Linked DNA regions of Homo sapiens: region 1 is linked to region 2. The links are contacts of gene promoters, found by promoter capture Hi-C in blood cells and fetal thymus (Javierre and others, 2016). All regions are on one chromosome and are shown on one strand. Each heading gives the region's core, a stretch centred on a gene start or on the middle of the fragment in contact. The rest is flanking DNA. Distances are from core to core; before and after follow the strand shown.

The links. Contacts are between HindIII fragments. The CHiCAGO score rates a contact against its expected background, and 5 or more counts as called.
Region 1: a fragment that was not itself captured here is called in contact with the fragment with the promoter of EPHB2 in region 2 in 3 of 17 cell types (endothelial precursors, M0 macrophages and M1 macrophages); the score reaches 8.3 in endothelial precursors.

The regions. Positions count from the first base shown.
Region 1 is chr1:22,820,977-22,826,318 of GRCh38, reverse strand. The region is part of intron 3 of EPHB2 (EPH receptor B2); the gene reads right to left. Among named protein-coding and RNA genes, the nearest start is that of MIR4253, 40 kb to the left of the region's middle. The HindIII fragment of the contact is 2,471 bases long and covers 2,558-5,028 here.
Region 2 is chr1:22,706,782-22,712,361 of GRCh38, reverse strand. It overlaps EPHB2 (EPH receptor B2), which reads right to left and starts at 1,523. Exons shown (of 16, transcript NM_017449.5): 1 at 1,319-1,523. The coding sequence starts at 1,379. RefSeq lists an enhancer at 230-329 and a silencer at 2,551-2,836. The HindIII fragment of the contact is 2,980 bases long and covers 245-3,224 here.

The DNA of each region.
Region 1 (5,342 bases), core at 2,544-5,043, 110 kb before region 2:
TACTACAAGGAAATGCCAAACATACTCCTTAAGCCCAAGGCCGTGGGGAGAGGCAGGTGCGCCCACCTTTTTCTAAAGAGTGCACTATCTATGCTTCTGGAGGTCACACTGAACGCACTTAGTAGACTCACTGCCTGAAGGAAGGCAGCCTCCCTGCCTCCTGCTTCCTCACTCCAATTCACTCCCGCACTGCCAGTGGCCAATCAGCTGATCTAGCTACTCTCCTGCTCAGAATCTGGCCGTGGCTCCCCAGTGCCCTCAGGGTTACAGCTTAAATCCCTGAGCTGGCATCCAGCCTCAGCAGGGGCCTCCTCACTCCTCAGGCCTCAGCCTTCAACCCACCCTGCACTCTTAGCTCCCAGCCACTCTGGGACAAGGGATCTGACTCAGATCCTGGACTCTCCCCTCCCCACCTCAGACACCAGCCAGCATCCCCCCAGACGATCCTCATTTGTCTAACTCTCTTGGCAGATGCTTCTCTGGCTCCTGCCAGGGGCAGACATGTTGATTTGGTTTCCCACCTGCAGCAGGGTCCTGGTGACCAAGGCAGCCACTGCCTCCTCAGCTAGTTCCTGCTTTGCCTTGCAAAAGGCAGAGGCCACACCTGGCCCCCAGGGTGGCCCTAGCCCCTGGCTCCCACTTAGTTCTCCTGCTCCAGATGTCAGGTTTTCTGAGCCAGCTGTACATCTATTCTCTAACTCTGGCCAACGCATGAGGGGGTTCAGAGAGCATCTTGTTCTCCCTCTTCCTGCCCCTTCCAACTTATGGATGGGAGTGAGGTGTAAGCCCAGAGAGGGTGAGAGACTTGAAGGTAGCAGCAAAGCTAGGCCTGAGACCTGGGTATCCTGAGTCCTGGACCAGTGCTCCGCTCACCCCCTGATCTAGGCTCCTTCCCAGCCCTCTCCACTCTTGACCCAAGGGTGGCTGTCATAGTGTGTGTTCCAACTGGATCATCCGAGGAGTTAGGTGTGTATGCAGATCACCCCTGAAAAACTGCATCTTTGGTGAAAGCGGGATGCCAGCATCTAGGTTATCAGCCCCATCTCATTAGCCCCATCCATGGATTAGATCTTCCTTCCTTCTGACCATCTATCCAACTGTATAACTAACGAATGGGGCTGATAACCTAGAATGGCTCAGAGAGGTCAAGTGCTTTTCCTAAGGTCACACAGGAATCCAGGTTTACCTGAATCGGAGCTTATGTCCAGAAAGTATGGTCAGTTTACGGGGTCTTCTTGAGATCAAGGTGCAGTCACAGACTATGCTCCTGACCTATGAATGTTCTAGGAGCTCCTGATGACTTGAGAATACTTCCTTGAGAAGATGAGGAAAGTGTCCCATCCCCAAGTCCCCTTCCCGCAGGGCTGCAGAGGAGCCAGGCTCTGTTACCAGCTCTGCCCATCGCTGGGCTGTCTGGCAATGCCCCTGGGAACCTGGCACTGGCCAACCCACCCTGCCCTGGCCACAGGTGCCCTGGGACGGAATGCTCACGGGGCTGCCATCCCAGGCTGGAGCTGAAAATTAAATTAAAACCACGACAGGGACAGTTAATTAAAGCAGATTAGCGCGAGACTAATTAGGGACACTGACACTGGAACCATCGCACTCCAAGATGTTAATTAGCTGTTCATTAATGTCAGCTCCCTGTTCAAGGTAGAAATATGAACAGCCCTTCTCCGGGGCTTCATTCTGGAGCTGAGTAAACAGGGGCGGCTGCCCAATGGCAGGCCCAGCCTCCACCCGTCTTCCCTCCCTCCTTCTGGCCCTGGTATCTGCCTACTCCCTTTGTCTCCATCCTATACCAGTTTCTGAATATTGGCACCGCCAGAGAGACCCTGGACCCATGGAAAGGAAGAGCGCAGCTGGGGCCCAATACACAACAGCTCTGGAAGGTGGCTTACCTGCTCTGTAAGCCAGCCTTGTTCACAGGAAACTCTCTGTCTCTGCCTTCCTACTCACTGGCCTGAGTTGGATGGAGGCCTTTCTTCTTCTTTTCTTCTTTCTTTCCTTCTTTCTTTCTTTCCTTCCTTCCTTCTTCCCTCCCTCCCTTCCTTCCCCCATCCATCAGTTAGACCTTCCTTCCTTCCATCCATCTATCCAATCATATATCTACACATGCATTCACAAATCCATCTATGATCCATGTATTCATCATTTTCTCCCATCCACTGATGATTTTATAAAAAACCTACCTACCTATCCAGCCCCTCCCAAATACTTAAGTTTCCCTTTGCTGAGCCATTCATCTAGCCATTTATTTAGCATGAATATGTCCACTCACTCTCTCCACCCATCCATCAACCTATCTTCCTAGGCACTGTTTTACCTGTCCAGCCAGTGAACCTACCAACACATCCACTGGGTCTTCTCTCCACATAGTGGATAGCAGCCACTCACTCGCTCACTGTCATTCATTCATCTAAACACTGATTCTTCCACCTGCCTACCAATCGCTCATCTTTCCATTCCTCTCATACATATCTATGAACACCTACTATGTGCCAGGCACTATGCTAGGTGCTGGGGTAGAGAAGGAAAACAGAGATGAGGAAAAGCTTAGATAGTGGAATCCTCACTTTTGTTCCCATTTTATAGATGAGAAAATCAAGATTGAAAGAGGTGAAGTTACTTGCCTAAGGTCACCCCGCAAATTATTCATCCAATGTTCATTTAATTAATATTTATTATATCACCTACTTCTATTATTATATATCACTTGAGGAGACAGTGACAGACACAGTTCCTAACTGTATGAGCATCACAGTCTAGAGTGGTAATTCTCAAAACAATCTGATGAAAGTTATTACTGCTGCCCACTCAAATGCACATATATACACACAGGAAGCATTTTGTGAACAATTTCACAAAGGAGGTTCACAAACCTCCTTAAAGGCCATCCACACATTAGTTCAAGATACAGGGCACTGGCTGAAGAGACACACAAGTAAAGAGAAAGCCAAACCCAGTGTTCTATACATTATAATACAGACTTGAAGAGGAGTCAGCGAAGGCTTCCTGGAGGAGGTGATACCCAAGTTGAGTTATGAAGGATGGGCCAGGTTAGCTACATAGGCCAGCTAACCGCCATTTGCACGTTGTGTTTCGTGTGCAAAACTTAGAGGAGCGAGGCAGTTGAGGGTGCTTTTTGGGAGCCGTGGTGGGTCCATCTGGGATGACTGGAGCCTGATGTGTGCAGGGGATGTGGCAGAGCTAACTTGGACCCAGGTCTCCTGTCTGGCTCTTCCTAAGAAACAATGAGGACCTGCCTCTGGCCCCACTGTTGCCCTTGCTCTGGGAATGGATAGGGTATATGTAGGTCTCAGTGGCTCCTAGCTTAGGGCTCAGCCGAACCACAGCCAAACTGTCTCCTGGAGGCCTCAGGCCTGCTGTTCTCTGCCACGCAGAGGGAACTACATTCCAGGCATGAACCTTAGCCATGTGGCTCTGTGGGACGGGTCCTCTATCATCTCAGCCTCTGCCTGAGACTAGGGATTGGAAGGCAGGGAGTGGAGACCCCTGTGGGCACTGGGCCTGAAACTGGACGGCAGGCCATAGCAGCACATGGCTGGCTCTCTGAGAGTTGGTCCAGGCTCTGGCCCAGATGCCAGTGCATGTCCTGACCCAGGACTGGTCCCTTTGGCCAACAGGGCCTTCCTTTCACTTTTGCCTGCTCCAGCCTGCTCTGTGATGGTGGCTCCAGACCCGTATCCCATCAGGGCAAGGTCACAATGCTGGCCAACTTCACTGGAGGCAACCAGACATTCCCAAGGAAGAAGGAATTTAAGAGACAGAAAGACCTGGCTTCAAATCACACCTCTGCCAGTTAGGGGCTAGATGACTTCAGGTGAGTTACTTTATCATTCTGAGCCTCAACTGTGAAATATGCATTATATTAACATTGCCACTTTTGTTTTCTTTTCTCATCTTCATTTTAAATTTATTTTTAGCATTGTTTGGTAGGTCTTTTCCATCACTTTCCTTTTTTTTTTAAATTAAAAAATAGAGATGGGGTTTCGCCATGTTGCCCAGGCTGGTCTCAAACTCCTGGCCTCAAGTGATCCTCCTGCCTTGGCCTCCCAAAGTGTTGGGATTACAGGTATAAGCCACTGAGCCCGGCTCATCCCTTCACCTTTGACCCTTCTCCATTTTGCTTTAGATGTGTCCTTTCAAAAGATCACATAGCTGGACTTACTCTATTTTTTAACCCTATCTAAGAGCCATTGTCTAGCAATAAGGAGATACTTACTTACATTTATTGTAGCACTGTAATTGGTACATAGTAGATGTCTAATAAAGATTATTCTTTCCTCCCAGCATCATCCAAGGACCTTAGTTTTTTTTCTCCCTTATCCATTGCCCCTTCCACAAGTACCACCACCGGAGCCTCATATGCTGAGGAATATATGGATCTATTGGTACCAGTAACCACATTCACTAAGCAAAAACCACCCCTAGCTTCAGAGTATCTCGTAAACTGACTGTCCGAGCAGGAAAGACCTTTAAGATCCTCAGACCAGAATGCTAAAGGCCAAGGTCAGACATCTTTTGTATCCATGTTGGGAACAGAATCAGATCCTCTGTTACTCAATCCAAAGGTTAACAGAAGCCCCAAAGGGCAACTACCCTAAGGCCCAGACAAGGGAGAGAGGAAAATGGGAAAGTGAGAGGAACAATCCAAGAACCAGAAGAAATGTCCCAGAATGTAGGAGGGACAGAGGGCATTTCTTGTGCCAATAACTCAGGTTTTGTGATTACTGAGACAGGCTTCCGAACATGATTCTGCCCCCATTTTTTGTTCAATTCTGGGTGAGTGCCTTCCTCTCTTTGGGCTTCAGGTTCCTTTTCTGGGATACCAGAAAGCTGGATTTGATGACTTACTAGACTGCACTGTAAATTTCCATCTAAACATCAGCATTAGAATAATGCTGATGGAAGTCACTGATGATTGTCCCAATATCTGACCTCTCCTTATTCCTTAACAATAGGCTCTACTTTTTAGCTGGGCACATGGCATTCCAGAATCAAGCTTATGCTTCCTGACTGTCTTGCATCTGGGTAGTATAGTCATGTGATTTCGTTCTGGCTGATGAGATGTTAGCAGAAATGGTAGCTGCAATTTCTGGGAATTGTCCTTAAAAGAAGCATGCGTGTCTATCTTTACCGCTTCCTCTTTCCTCCTGGCTGGAATGTGGATGCGATGGTTGGAGGGTTAGCAGCCAGCTTAGATCTTGGGACCAAGACAGGAACCTGAGTCCTTCACGATTATGGAGCTGTACCAGCTGCCTACTTCTGGATTTCATTTACTTGAGGGAAGAATAAACTCCAATCTTGTTTAAGCCACC
Region 2 (5,580 bases), core at 274-2,773:
GGAAGGGCTCACGCAGTTTAGGGGCAACAAAACCCAGCTAAGTGAGTGCTGGTTTCAAAGAAAGACCACAGACCTGGGTTCTATTTTTGTCACCCAACGGCCCTGGGTGAGACATCGGACTTTTCAGAACCTCGGTTTCCCTATCTGTTCAAGAGAAGTAGGAATCATACCTACCTGTCTTCCCCGGAAGGTGTATTTTGAGGGATCCAACACGCTGGTGGGCGGGAAAGCACTTTGTAAAGCTTAAAGTACCTTGTCAACTGTGCAGCACGTTGTAAACCACAGAGAGCTGCGTATAGTGCGAAGTACTTCATAAACTGTAAAGTGGTTTGAAAACTGTAAAGTGCAGTACACGTGAGAACCATTATTCACGTTCGCTTCTTGCCCTGCAAGCTCGGCCATTCCTGGTGGACACACCCAGACCGCACTAACTTTCCCTCCAGAGCAAGCTGGCTCGGGAGACCTAGCAACTACCCTTGCCCCCCTGGGGGTCGAGTGGTACCAATACACGAGGCCACGGGGAGAGGGCCCGCGACCCTGGCCAAGGCCAACACATGGCAAGAGCATCTGGTCCGGCCCCGGCGGCAGCTGGAGAGTTCCCGGGGCTCCAGCCGCCACGCTGAGCGCCGCGGCCGCGGGGCGGTGGCCGGCGGGGGTGCCCGGAGACCTTGCGCGGCGGAGAGATGCCCACAGACCCATCCCCCGCGCAGTCCTCTCGGGGAGGGGACCCCATTGTACGCCGCGGGCGATGGGCAGGCACCGACGCGGGGGCTGGCGCGCTCCCTTCCACTCTGCCAGTCCCTGCTCTCCGGGGCGCCGGGCCCCATCTCGGGGGCGCGGGCCGGGAGCCCCCACCCCGGCCGGCCGCGGTGCCTCCCTCCCTCTGCTCCCTGCCAAACTTTCCAGCCCCGACCGAGCGCCGGCGCCCCCCCCGCCCCCCGCCACGGCCGGGCCCGCGCCCCTCCACCCTGTGCGGAGCAAGACCAGGCCGGCGCGAGGCGGCTGCCCGAGCCGGGGGCGGCGAGCGCGCGTGGGCAGCCCCCAGCCCTGGGCGGCGCTCGCCGGGCTGGCTACAAAGCCTCGGCAAGATGGTCCCTTCGCCTCCTCCTGGCACAGTCAATCAGCGCCCGCCGCTCCCCGGGCGCCCGCGGGGCCCGCTCCTCCCGGCGCGGCCGGACACACCTCCCCGCGGCCACCTGCGCCCGGCGCCGGCCCCCGGGCAAACTTTGCGGGCCGCGGAGCGGAGGTGGGCGCCGGCGGCCGCCCGTGCCCGGCCGCTCCCCGCCCCCATCGCCCGCCCGCCCGCCCGCTCGCTCACCTTCCACGGCGGCGAGCAGCGGCAGCAGCAGCAGCGCGGCCCCCAGCCTCCGCAGAGCCATGGCTGCGCTTCCCGGGGCCTCGGGCCGCGGCGCCGCGGGGCCCGGACGGCCCGGGCGGGAGCGCGCGCCCCGGGCTCGGGGGGCCAGGGGGGGCGGCAAGGCGCGGCGCACACACAGCCGCCGCCACCGCGCAGCCAGCAGAATGAGCCATCCAGCCCGGGCAGAACGGGGACCCGGGCTCCGCCAGCGCTGGGCACGGCCCACCTGAGCCGCGGGCGCGGGGGGAGCCTCGCCAGGCCACCGCCCCCCGCGCGCGTCCCGGCCCCCGGCGGCCGCGCGCCGCCGCGAGCCCGGGTCCCCACACCGCGCCCGTAGGGTCACCCGGGGGCAGCGCGGGCGCTGGAGCGCGGCGACCCCGCGTGCCCGGGCCACTGAGACCCCGGGCTCCCCCCGCGCAGCAGTGGTCTCTCCCGGCGCTGTGGCTCCTCCAGATAAAGCAGCGATTTCAGCCCAAATGTTTCTCAATTTTTATTGAATGCTGCAAAGCCGGAGAGCGTCTGGCGCGGCTGACAGGGGCAGGGAGAGCGGACGGAGGGGAGGGCGGGGGAAGGGGCTTCCCAAAGCGGGGGCCGGCACTACCTGTCAGGGCAGGGAGTCCCACCCCCTCGCCTCAGCCCTGCCACCCGGGTCCCTGCGGCTTCGAAAGGGACCGAACTGCAATGAATGGAAAAAAAAAAAAAAGGGTGTGTGTGGGGGGGTGGCATCTGGGAACAAAACAGGCGGCTTTCCCAGGCACCGGGGCTGGGCCGGGGCCTCCGAGTGGGAGACTGGGCCTTGGCGCTACCCGAGGGCCTGGGGTGGGGCTGGGGGGAGGGTGGTCACTCGGCACTGGTGGGCTGGGCCCTTGCAGGCAGACCCCAGGCCTCCCCTCCCTGCCCCGTTGTTCTGAGCTGGCCCGCGAGCCCCTCACTGCAGACTCGTCTATGTCTGTATTAGATTTCTCCTTCTCTGTTGATCTTGCTCCCAGTGCAGTTTGGGGATGGGGTGAAGGAAGTCCATGGGTGAATCTGGGGAAAGCCCCAGCCACCCCCACGCTGTGGAATGGACCTGTCTGTGCAGCCGTGGTTTTGTGCATGGCCGTCCCTTCAGGGAGAACACAACCCTAGCCCCAACCCTGTGGGCCCTGCCCTGCTCTGACAGCCTTCATCACCATCATCATTAACAGACTTTACTGAAGTCTGGATGGTGGGCGGCTGCAGGGGGCCTGCGGCAATCACCCAGGCTGAACCCCTGGCAGTTGGGAGCCCACTCCTGACTGAGGAGACTTCATCAGGAGCTCGGAACTCTGTGGAGTGAGTGGAGGAGCCCAGTGCAGGAGCAGGTGGTTTAAGTCGAAGGCAGTTTAAGTCTATGCTACCCACATCTCCTGTGTCCCTTTGTCCCACATACTATCAAAATGTCCCAGCAATCCCTCCCCTTCAGTCCATACCAAGAAAATGGGGTACCACAGGCTTTGGGAATCCATCTAAGGTTTGGAAAGTTGGGTCGTCTCTTGAAGCTCCAAGAGTCCAGTTGAAATGGGTGTCATCCTGGAAGGCCACCAGGAGGAGGCAGCCTGGGAGGGAGACAGAACAGGAGTGAGCAGGGAGAGAAGAGAAACAGGAGATTTCCCCCTATTAAGCCTACAGACCCCTCACCAGGGTCAAGAGCCAGTGGGGTGGGGCTGGCAGAGCCACTACCGTTCCTATTTGAGTGAGCAGGGAGAGAGGAGAAACGAAGATTCCCCCTTTTAAGTCTACAGACCCCTCACCAGGGTCAAGATCCACTGGGGTGGGGCTAGCCTTTATTTTCAGTTCTTGCCTGTCAGACCTTCCAGGAGACCCAGGGTTTGAGGGACCCCAAGCTTGGCCCATCTTGAGGCAATCCTCCCTCTCCTGGACAGAGCAGCTCTAAGCTCTGGCCCCCTCCAGTGCATCCAGGTGCTAGACACTTCCAAATTCAAGAAGTCATTATTGAGCACCTATTATGTACTGTGCAGATTCAGCTTTTTTGCTTTGTTTCTATTTCCTGGGACCCTTGACTCCACCTACCCAGGGCCAGTGGTTACTTCCTTTTTGTCTCAAAATAGGAAGACCAGTGACTCTGCTTTATTGAGGACATGGTACCAGGCACTAGGCTGGGCTTTGTTTATTTCTTGTCCCCCTTAATCTTTCCTACTCTGTGCACCAGGTGCTGATCTTTTCACATGATGAAACTGAGGACCAGATAAGTAATTTGTCCAAAGTCACATGGCAAATTGGGCTAGGATTCAACCCCATGTCCGTCCGACCCCAGTGCTGACCTCCTTGTACCTTTCACAGAAGCACAGAGCTCAGGGCTCTTCCCACAGGCTATTTCACAGATAAGGAAACTGAGGCCTAAAAAGGAAAGTGACTCACCCAACGTTATCTGATGAAATAGACATCTATCCAGGGCCTTTACCTGGCAAAAATAGAAAATTACTGATCATAATTAAGTTCCCCTTCTCTCACATCCTCTTCTCTCTAAACAGTATTTTATTCCCCATTTGGGGTGGCTGGGTTCTGCAGTCTGGCCAGGCTCTCCTCCCTGATTTCTTGGCAACCGCCTTTAGCTGTGCTTTTGTCCCAGCTGTGCACTCCACCTGGTTGCCTTCTTGGCTCTAAAGACTTGGATTCAGCCTCACCCCAGCCCCCACCAAGAGCTTAATTGACATTCGCCTCACCCCTCTCTGACTGACCTATTTGCCTATTATCTGTTCCCTGAAAGATAATCAGCCCCACATGGTCCATTGCTGGTTTCTCTGATGGATTGTTTCTGATTTGCACGTTATCTCTACAACTCCAGCCGACTGTGAGCTCCATGAGGGCAGTGCCTGGATGCAAAACTATACTGTACACTGCCAGGGCAGGAGGCCCCAGGGAGCATCTGACCCAATCCCCTCCTCAGCAGAGGAGGAGGCGGTTTAAGCTTCATTTGTCTAATGACAACAGCTACTCGAATTTGCAATCACGCTTTAACAGTTTACAAAGCAGCGTTCACACCCATCAACTCGACTCATGCTAATTCAACCAGCCTATCCTGCGAGCCAGCCCGGCAGCCAGGGAACGCCATTTTTCAGACGGGGAAATTGGGGCCCAAAGAGGGGCCACTTGCCCAAAGACATGTGGAAGGTTTGGGGTTTTTTGTTTGTTTTTGGTGCAGCTGGAGTGAGGCTTCAGTGACCTGTCTTGTCTAGGTCTCTTTCAATCAGAGTTGATTGACAAACATTAGTTGGGCACCTCCTGCATACCAGGCACTGAGGAGGCAGGGACGCAGCTGTGGACCTGCCAGACAAGGCCCTGCTCTCTGGGAGCCTATATTCTGCTGCAGAGAGACCTATATAGGGACAAGCTAATAACGATAATGGTAAGTGCGAGAAAGATAATGACCAGGGTGATGGGGCAGTGATTGACGGAGGGCAGGGGGCTGCTCTGGCCAGGGGAATCAGGGAAGGCCTCTTAGGCAACATGGCAGCTAAAAGCTGGACAGCGAGGAGTCTACCATGCCAACATGTGGGAAGAGAGCTCCAGGTGGAAGAAACTGCAGAGGCAAAGGCCCTGAGGTGGGAACACACTGGGTACCCTCTGGGAATAGGAGCTGAAGTACGGCAATCAACTGGAGCGTGGAGGAGGTTACATCAGGGAGGGAGAATATGGATTGTAGTTTAACCTCAATGGGGGAGTCATGGAGGATTATAAGTTGAGACTGGATAGATTGGAGGTAGAGGAAATAGCATGAACTTGGCTGAGCAGGGCCTGGGGGACCCCATGTGTTAACCCATGCCACCATCCTCCCGGTCTGTGGGGCTGGGCTGGCCTCTAGAGCCCCTAGATGGAGACACCAGGGGCTCTCTTAACTTGCTTCCCTTAACTTGACTCCCTTAACTCCCTAGCCCTCCCTTAACTTACTGTGTGACCTTGGGCAGGGTACTCACCGTCTCTGGGCCCCACTTGCCACAAATGCCAAATGAGGGCATTGGCCAAGGTGGTTTCTCTGAGGCCACTTTCAGCCCTCTCTTTGTCGTGGATTCAGTGGGGGCAACAGGACCTTGGTGAGGATCTCAGCCATACCAGAGGATGCCAATGAGCTCTAGGCTCCCTTTGCTTTCCCTGAGGCTCCTTCTTCCTGAGGGGAAAGGTAGTGGGGCTCTTGAAGGGGGGAAACATGTTACACTGAGTGGCAGAGCCCAGAGAAAACATAG